Linked DNA regions of Homo sapiens: region 1 is linked to region 2. The links are contacts of gene promoters, found by promoter capture Hi-C in blood cells and fetal thymus (Javierre and others, 2016). All regions are on one chromosome and are shown on one strand. Each heading gives the region's core, a stretch centred on a gene start or on the middle of the fragment in contact. The rest is flanking DNA. Distances are from core to core; before and after follow the strand shown.

Region 1 (4,408 bases), core at 894-3,393, 1.0 Mb after region 2:
CCTCATAACGCCTTGATCAGCTTTGCTTTTGATTGGCTGCTAAGTAATTTCCTGTCCCTTCCAGCCTCTGGTCCCCCAGCTTCCACTCTGGTCAGTAGCTCATAAAGAAAGGTTTCGGGTGATAACCTCCCCAAGCACGTTCTTTTCTCATAAAGCGATGAGAATACCTTCAAGTCTCCAAAGAGTGCATCCCTAAAGGTGGAATTTCAGTAGATGCTACTTATACTTTTTTATATACAAGTGTTAAATGTATATATTTATGGCCCATTTTCTTTCCAAAGACTGAAAGAGGCTTACATTAGGACATATTCAACGAACCTTAAAGGTTAAAGAGAAAAGTTTAAGATCATATTGTGATTGGGTGGGGAAGGTAGGAGGGAGCAACACTATTCCCTAATCTGCCAGTGTGATTGGTGCAGCTAAGCATTCCATTGAACCCCGACCTGCCTGGTAAATGGGGCAAATCATCTGGGAAGGAGACCCATCCTTCAATTCCTGAACACATAGCCATTGCTACCTGGAAGAGATGGCTCTGAGAATTTTAATTAGGCATGAGGTAGAGCGAGATCAATAGCTTGTACCTTCTCTTGGAGGATGATGCTGGGGAAACAAGGCTCTGCAATAACTGGTCAGTTTCCAGAGAAGTGCTCAGTGCCATGAGGACAGATGTGGAAGTGCTGATGTGATATAGTTCGGTGGACACACGGAGGAGCTTAGATGAATGGGGAGAGGGGTCTTACCTGAAAGAGAATGAGAGCAGACAATTCCTTCATGGGAAGAATGTGTGTGTGTGTGTGTATGTGTGTGTGTGTCTGTGTGTCTGTGCGTGTTGTGTGTATATGTGTGTGTCTGTGTTGTGTGTGTATGTGTGTGTCTGTGTGTGTTGTGTGTGTATGTGTGTGTATGTGTGTTGTGTGTGTGTGTGTCTGTGCGTGTTGTGTGTGTCTGTGTGTTGTGTGTGTGTGTTGTGTGTGTGTCTGTGTGTTGTGTGTGTGTGTATGTGTGTTGTGTGTGTGTATGTGTGTGTGTCTGTGTGTGTTGTGTGCGTGTGTGCACACACACCGACTCATGTCCAGGGTGTTCTTTCTGCTATTAAAGCAAGAAACGATTTCCATTCTAAAGGTGACCCTCGCCCTCACTTGGAGCCTGGCCCTGGCCCTGGGTGCAAGCCACAGTCACTGCAGTGATGCTGTCCTCTCCCTTGCAGACATCTAAGACAAAGAAGATACACAGCTGAGGAAGGCGAGATGCCTTTTAAAAATTAGACAACATCTTAGAGGGTTTATTTCCTTTATCTCTAGACCTACATCCATTAACCCACACTCAGAGACAATCGCTGCCACTGTTCAGGAAGCCAGCTCGAATGGGTCGAAACTGCCATTGTATATCCAGGAAAGATAGACACACGACAGAGATTTTTTTTAAAATGCCAATTTCCAGGGAACCAGCTTCTGCTGAATGCAGCCTGATAGAAATTCAAGATAAAACTCTCATGGATTCTGCCCATCCATAAAGTGCCACTTAGCAGACAATTTGCACCATCTGTGAACCACTCCCATCCACTAAGCTTCTTTTTTAGCTGTTGTAAACTCTGTCTCATCAAACTCTTATCTTTTACCTATACAGAGCCGTACTTTAATTGATAAATTTCAGGGAAAACGGAGGAGGGACAGCGTTTCAGGAATAACTGGGACCAGTGAGATCAGTGTCTTAGGAAGATGAAGATCTGAATCCTGAACCGTGACTCACGGGAGCCTGGCTGATCTCCTTCGCTTTCACAGGACTTCTCGCTGCTATGACACATTTGCATGGTGACTCCTGGTTCTTTTCCAGGCGTCAATGTGAATGTCCATTTTCTTTTGGAGTGGCTGTCTCTTTAAACTCTTACAATACACACGGGTTTTCTTTTCTGGCTTTTCTTGTAAGGTGCTGCCTATCAAAAAAGAGACAGGAGAGAGAGAGAGAGAGAGAGAGAGAGAGAGAGAGATTGTCTTCCAAAGGTTGTTTTCTTACCCTCTGTTGCTTAAACAATCATCTTCTGTGTTATTGAGGAAAACCCAAAGCTGTCAGCTTCCCTGGACTTCAGGTTTCCAGCAAACTCACCTCCCCCCTCCCTTGGTTTCACCCCCATCTGCTTATAATTTAATGTTCTGTATGTTTTAATCATTTCATTAGGCATGTCCTTATTTTGAAATGCAACTAATTCTTCAGTTCAAACAAACAGCCAGTAATTCTAAAAATGAGACCATTCTTTTCTTTCAGTTAGAGATTGGCTTAGAAGAAATATCACACCTATTTTGAGAAGGGTGAAATAACTCAAATGCCACTAGTTTTTTTAAAACCGCTGACTTTTAAAAGTGGAAATGATCTTAGAGATTGCTTCATTTTCTCCACAGATATGGAACTAACTTTTGGGGATGTTTTCTCATGTCTTTCTGAACACTTTGTGATAAAGTCATTCCTATTAAGGTTTGTCTTAATACGGATTTGTAAAAATTATGTAATAAAATACCTCATTTCTATACTCGGTGACAATGGACATGAAAGAAAAAGTGATTCCACTATAGGACTTGTATGTTTTATTAATTTATTTTCTTTATAGGAATTTACATTCTTTAAGGCAAGGAGAATCATATTTTGCTATAAGGGGAAAGATAATTTGCAAGGTGTTTCATGTGATTTTTCCCCCTGACATTCAGATTTATTCTATATCAAGAAAAGAAGCTTCTGGGCCGGGTGCAGTGGCTCACGCCTGTAATCCCAGCACTTTGGGAGGCCAAGGTGGGCGGATCACCTGAGGTTAGGAGTTCAAGACCAGCCTGACCAACATGGAGAAACCCCGTCTCTATTAAAAACACAAAAATAGCCGGGCTTTGTGGCACATGCCTGTAATCACAGCTACTCAGGGGGCTGAGGCAGGAGAATCTCTTGAACCTGGGAGGCGGAGGTTGCAGTGAGCCAAGATCGTGCCATTGCACTCCAGCCTGGGCAAAAAGAGCGAAACTCTGTCTCAAAAAAAAAAAAAAGGAGAAGCTTCTGAAATTCCAGGAGCATACAACTTCCCCCCTTATCTATGGGGGATACATTCTTCCAAGACCCCAGTGGATGCCTGAAACTGCAATAGTACCAAACCCTACATATACTATGCATGAATTTCTTTTTTTCCTTACCATTCATGGGTAAGCTGGTCCAAGTGCAGTGGTGTTTACAACTAATTGATCACAATTCGTGGGTAGAAGTTTCCTTCTTACTGTAGATCTTAAAGATGTCAGCATACAATTTTTTTCTTTCCTTATTAAGCTGATAACTTTCACCTTTTCACTTCAAGGATGCATTTTATGGCTTCTTTTTTGGCATATGCAAATTGCCAGCATCATTACTCTCATGCTTTGAGGCCATTATATAACAAAATGAGGGTTACTTGAACACAAGCACTGGGAAACGGTGACAGTCTATGTGATAACTGAGATGGCTACCGTGTGACTGACAGGAAGGTAGCTTAGACAGTGTGGATATGCTGGACAAAGAGAAGATTCCCCTCCCAGGTGGGACAGAGGATGAGAGATTTCAGCATGCAACTGAGAATGGCATGCAATTTAAAACTTATGAATTATTTCTGAAATTTTCCATTTAATTTTTTGGGGCCACAACTGACCACAGGTAAATGAAACCACAGAAAACAAAACCTCAGCTAAGAAAGAGCTAATGTATTTAATTTTAACATTATATCAATGACCCAACTGTGCAACGTAAAATGTCTTTATTTTCTGATACTTGTATTACTTTCTGGTAATAAAACGTCCTTTCAGTATTTTAGAAGAACGAGTCACATTTCGCACATAGTAGTAGACACTTAATAGATGTTTGTTGAAACATTCGTAGATAAGTGGGTAGATACACACTGACATTTAACGATGTGCCTTAATTCAGCTTTAAGTGCTAATGTTTATTAACGGTGATGCGTAAATACAACAGCACACATTCTGATTTAGGCTCGTCCACTGAAAATGTCCCCCTACTTCCAAAACGTAAACCGGTACCATTTAAGGATCGAAATGAAAACAACGTAATAGTGAAGTTGTCTTGGAGGAATTGCTGGAGGACGCCTTTGATACCTTTATGGAGAATGAATGGGAAGCCTTTGCGTGTGGCTGACACAAATGGTTGTCACACGCCATCTAGTGGCCATCCGTGAAACTGTGCATATGCCGTGGGAAACGCTTTTGGAACAAGTTGGATTGCTCCGAATTTCAGTGCCTATCGGGCAGCCAGTGAACATTTGTCCATCTTTAAGGCATTAAACTGAGAAGAACCACTGAGGAAAGCATGCCACAGTCTTTCCCAAAATCCCTGTGTCTTAAGGAACAACCAAGAAGTTAACTGGTCAGGGAAAAGATTTCTTTTGGAA
Region 2 (4,750 bases), core at 1,558-4,057:
TTTCCTTTATAAATTACCCAGTCTTGGGTAGTATCCTTGCAGCAACATGAGAACGGACTAATACAGGCGCAATTGACCTGGTCAGCAGGAGGAGACAGGGCTGCTTTCACACAATGAGGGCGGAGAATAATAGTGGGGGAGGTCAGGTGACTCACTTGGGTACCTCTTAGTACTTCTTACCCAACTGTCTGTGAGTGGACAAGCACAAGCAGCCACAACCTGAAAAGGATATGGTTACCAAGGGCTCAGAATCCGCACCCCCCTCCCACCGGGATGAGGATTAGGGTCATGCCATCAGGTAAGCCATTGAGACCAGTAGAAGAGGTAGCAGAGGGCAAGGAAAAATTAGAATGGATAGTGAAGGAAGGAGATGATGAGTGTCAGTTGCAGCCTTGAGACTGGTGGCAGTAACGGGCTGTTTGTTTTACGAACCTCCTTCTTCTAAGCTTGCCTGCAGGGGGTCAATGCAACTTTATAATAGCCATCCAAACTTATTGATCTTGTGTTTATCGCTCCTTCAATATGTTTCGAATGCGAGTCATTGCACCAGTCAACATGCCATCCCAGCTCACTGCTGGTGACAAGTTTAATAGTTGGGCAGCCACCTTGCACTAAAGGCTGCCTGTACACCATCTCCTTACCACTTGGGTATTAAGGGACCCAGTCCTCAAACCCCATCTTAGCTTTCTTTTTTTTTGAGACAGAGTCTCACTCTGTTGTTCATCCTGGACTACAGTGGTGTGATGTCAGCTCATTTCAACCTCCGCCTCCCAGGTTCAAGCAATTCTTGTGCCTCAGCCTCCAAGCGTAGCTGGGATTACAGGCATGCACCACCATGCCTGGCTAGTTTTTGTATTTTTAGTAGAGACAGGGTTTCACCATGTTGGCCAGGCTGGTCTCAAACTCCTGGCCGCAAGCAATCCGCTCTCCTCAGCCTCCCAAAATGCTGGGATTAGAGGTGCAAGCCACTGTGCCCGACCCCCATCTTAGCTTTTTGAGCAGGCTTTCTCAGACCACTTCTGGTGCCAACTACTGTTGAATCCTCTGGGAAGCAGACACCAAGATAGAGTCACAATTGCAAAAGCTTTTTTGGGAAGACTTGTAAAATGAAAATGAAGGAAGCAGATGGAACAGGGAAAGCCTCTGGATCATAACACAGACTGACAAGTTCTCTCTGTAGACCAAAGGGCCACTCTGGAACAGGCTCAAGTTGGAGGAGTCCTGTATTGGGCAGAAATGAATAGGCCCTTGGGTCCCCACCTTGCTTAGTCAGTGGGCACAGGCTTCTCCAAGAAGAGGGCTTGAAACCGGTGGCAAACCCTCAGAGAACAAAAGGGGCTGTCATGAACCATGCTCATCAAAGCTGCACAGCGAGTCCTTTCTAGAAGAGGGATCTGAACCTGCATGCATCTCCACAGCTGCCATCTGAGGCACTTTTTATCCCCACTGGTTGTCAAATGATCCTTTATTGAAATATTTTCCTTTGTGCTTAACAAGCTGAGCATTCCACTGCACCACTGTTGATGTCATGAGGGTGGTGACCATCAACATTGCAGCCCACAGATGGTGCAGTCCCCGGGATCTTTTTAATTGTTCCAGAGAGTTCCCTAACTAAAGATTGGAGCTGCATCTGTCAGGCAATGTTGACATTCTCATCAAATGATATTTTCATTGGGTTTAATGTTTTTCTGTTTCTTTCTGTCTCCTGGAGGTTCCTTGAGGGCTTTGATGATCAGGGCAGAGGCAGAAGGTACTACCTCAATCTATGCCTGCCTGTTCTGAATGGTTTCACTGTAATCCTCAGATCCTTCAAATCACCGGTTGCCCTAACGATGTCATTACCAATGTGTTTTGGAGACAGACACAGGGGTTTGATCTTAGGGGCCAGCACAGATGTGGCACCAACATCATTCCCGGTGCATCTCAGACTTTAATCTCGTTGGGGTCAAACTTAGGCTGTATGGTGGAGGTAGGTGGTGTTGGATGAACCTGGATTCAGGACCACCAAAGAAAGTTGCACATTGGTCTACTCTGAGCTGAAAATTGAAAGGTGGGGCACCTTTTCTCATGGCAGACACAGGCATAGCTAAGCAAGTCCAAATGCACAAGCACAGGCCTAGCCCCTGCTTGCATCACATCTGCTAATGCCCAGCTGTCTGGAGCAAGTGAGATGACCTACCCTAAAGCCAAGTTCAAGGAAGTACACTCTGCCCACCGTGAGGCCCCAGCAAGGGGGGGTATGCAGCAGGGGAGTGAAGAATTGGGACCAATAATTAGATCCACACAGGATAAAGGTCCTTTGGAAACCATTGAGCTCTGGCCGCATTAGTTACTATGGTTACTGTTACTATTATAGGTTACTACTATTATCACCTGTCCAGAAGACCAGGTACCCTAAGCCAAGTTGTGTCACAGACAGCTCTCAGGAAAGAATCACTTGACTAAACGCCAAAGATCAGGTTTGGGATCTGCAATTCAAAACTGCAGTTTGGGCATAGAAAAGATTAAACGTAGCACAAAACAACAACCACACTATCCTCCCAAAGCCCCTTCCAGGCAGCTCCAGGGCCGGCCCAGCGGATCAATAGCAATCTGGGGTGCTAGGGAGGGCGCCATCTGAGTAGTTCGGAAGAACTGAACATGATGAGTTGCCGGCTGCTTCCTGAGTCCTTGGGGAAGCACACGCACCATCCACTTAGCACTGGAGCCTGGCTGTTCTCCGGGCACTCCTACCCCATCTTCCTGGCGGGGCTTAGATGCTCCTGCCTCTTCCACCAGCTCCTCTTGCCCTGCATGCTTCAGGGACGATGGAGGTCTCGGGGCACCCCCAGGCCAGGAGATGCTGCCCAGAGGCCCTGGGAAAGCTCTTCCCTGGCCTCTGCTTCCTCTGCTTTCTGGTGACCTACGCCCTGGTGGGTGCTGTGGTCTTCTCTGCCATTGAGGACGGCCAGGTCCTGGTGGCAGCAGATGATGGAGAGTTTGAGAAGTTCTTGGAGGAGCTCTGCAGAATCTTGAACTGCAGTGAAACAGGTAGGTGCCTCACCTGGACAGGGTGGGCCTTTTCTCCGTGGTGGCAGCAGTCCCCCAAGAGCAGAGGGCTGCCTTCTAGGAGGCTGGGTCTGGGAGCTGCCTGCCTGGATCCTCCTCATGCCTGGGCACTTTAAGCGAGTAACTTCTTTCTGAACCTCTGTTTTCTCCTCTGAAAAGTGGGGAGACTAACTGCCTCTCAGGGTTGCTGTGAAGAATGCAGGAAAGGCCCTGAGCACCCTGAGGTGCTCAGGAAAGACCAGCTCCCCTTCCTGTGCCTCAGCACCCAGCCCCATCCAGACCAGTGGCCTCAGGGGACGATGGATTACTGGGAATTTGGTGGGGTGGGGTGCATGGGTGAGCAAATCTGGGGCTGGGGTTGGGGGGCTAGCTTGCTTTTCAGAACTATGTCTGCCTGACCCAGGATTCAGTTTGCAGGGATGAGAATTTAGGGAACAACCCAAATTGGATTTAAATTCCAGCAGGAGCACCTGCCACCCACGCCCCCACTTCCTGTTTCAAACTCCTTTTCTGCTGTCTGGCTCAGCGGAGTGGGGAGGTGTTGTGAGAAGACCTGGGGGGAGGGGTGGGGGTCCTGGCTGTTGTCCTGGCTGCTCTCCCAGCTTGCTCTGCAATCCGTGGAGGCAAAGCTTTGTTCTCTCTGGGTCTCAGTCTGCGGGAGAGAAGGGGACCCCCAATCTCAGACTTGGTGGTCACAGGGACCCTGTGAGAAGCAGAGGAGACAAGGAACATTCTGGCTCTTGGAAGACAGAAGTCACTTTATAGTGTCCTCATTGCATTTTCTTCATATTTAGTCACTTGTTTCTACTCTGCTGTGTTCCTCGAAGGAAGCTTGTTATTGTATTCAACAGAGCAAGATAAAACAAGGGAGAGTAGATAAATGAAAAACAAAGGAAAACCAGACACTAAAAGTCAGGAGAAGAATGGGGTGCAGGGAGCCCCTCCCCTCCCACTCTGGTGTGGGGGCTCCTTCCACAGCCCAGACCTTGATTTGGGAACAGGTGCAGCTCCCAGAGACAAGAGGCCAGTCCAGGGAGGCAGAGTCTCCTGTCTGTGGAGGGTCCCACTCCCTGCATCCTTGCCAGACAGACGCCAGCCTGCTCAGTGGACCTGGGAGATTGCTGCCAAAGGGACACTGCACCATCGCAGGGCCTAGACTACCAGCAAGTTCAAGGCTCTCTAAGCCAGCAACACATCAGAATCAACCAGGGAGACTGCCTAGAGTACACATCCCCAGGCTCTTCTCCAAACCCACTTAATCAGGATCTCCAGGGCTGGGCTGGGAATCTTAAAGTTTCAAGGATAAGGCCAAGCATGGTGGCTCATGCCCATAATCCTAGCATTTTGGGAGGCCAAGGTGGGAGAATCATTTGAGGCCAGGAGTTTGAGACTAGGCCTGGGCAACAAGGTGAGACCCTGTCTCTATAAAAAATTAAAAAATTTAGTCAGATGAGGTGGCGTGCACTTGTAGTCCCAGCTACTTGGGAGGCTGAGGCAGGAGGATTGCTTGAGCCTACGAGTTTGAGGCTACAGTGAGCCGTGATTGTGCCATTGCACTCCAGCCTGGATGACAGAGCCAGAGATGTCTCAAAAATAAATAAGTAAAAATAAAGTTTATCAGGTGATTCCAATGCACAGCAGGGTATGGGAACACAGAGCTGGTCCCACTCCATTTTGTACCGATTTTCACTGGAGATTAAAA

What was found. Contacts are between HindIII fragments. The CHiCAGO score rates a contact against its expected background, and 5 or more counts as called.
Region 1: a fragment that was not itself captured here is called in contact with the fragment with the promoter of KCNK18 in region 2 in 2 of 17 cell types (naive B cells and non-activated CD4 T cells); the score reaches 6.3 in naive B cells.

The regions. Positions count from the first base shown.
Region 1 is chr10:118,237,270-118,241,677 of GRCh38, forward strand. LINC02944 (long intergenic non-protein coding RNA 2944) reads left to right here and starts at 4,236. Exons shown (of 5, transcript XR_946349.3): 1 at 4,236-4,408. The HindIII fragment of the contact is 1,157 bases long and covers 1,566-2,722 here.
Region 2 is chr10:117,194,682-117,199,431 of GRCh38, forward strand. It overlaps KCNK18 (potassium two pore domain channel subfamily K member 18), which reads left to right and starts at 2,808. Exons shown (of 3, transcript NM_181840.1): 1 at 2,808-3,030. The coding sequence starts at 2,808. It also overlaps the pseudogene RPL12P26. The HindIII fragment of the contact is 2,593 bases long and covers 1,083-3,675 here.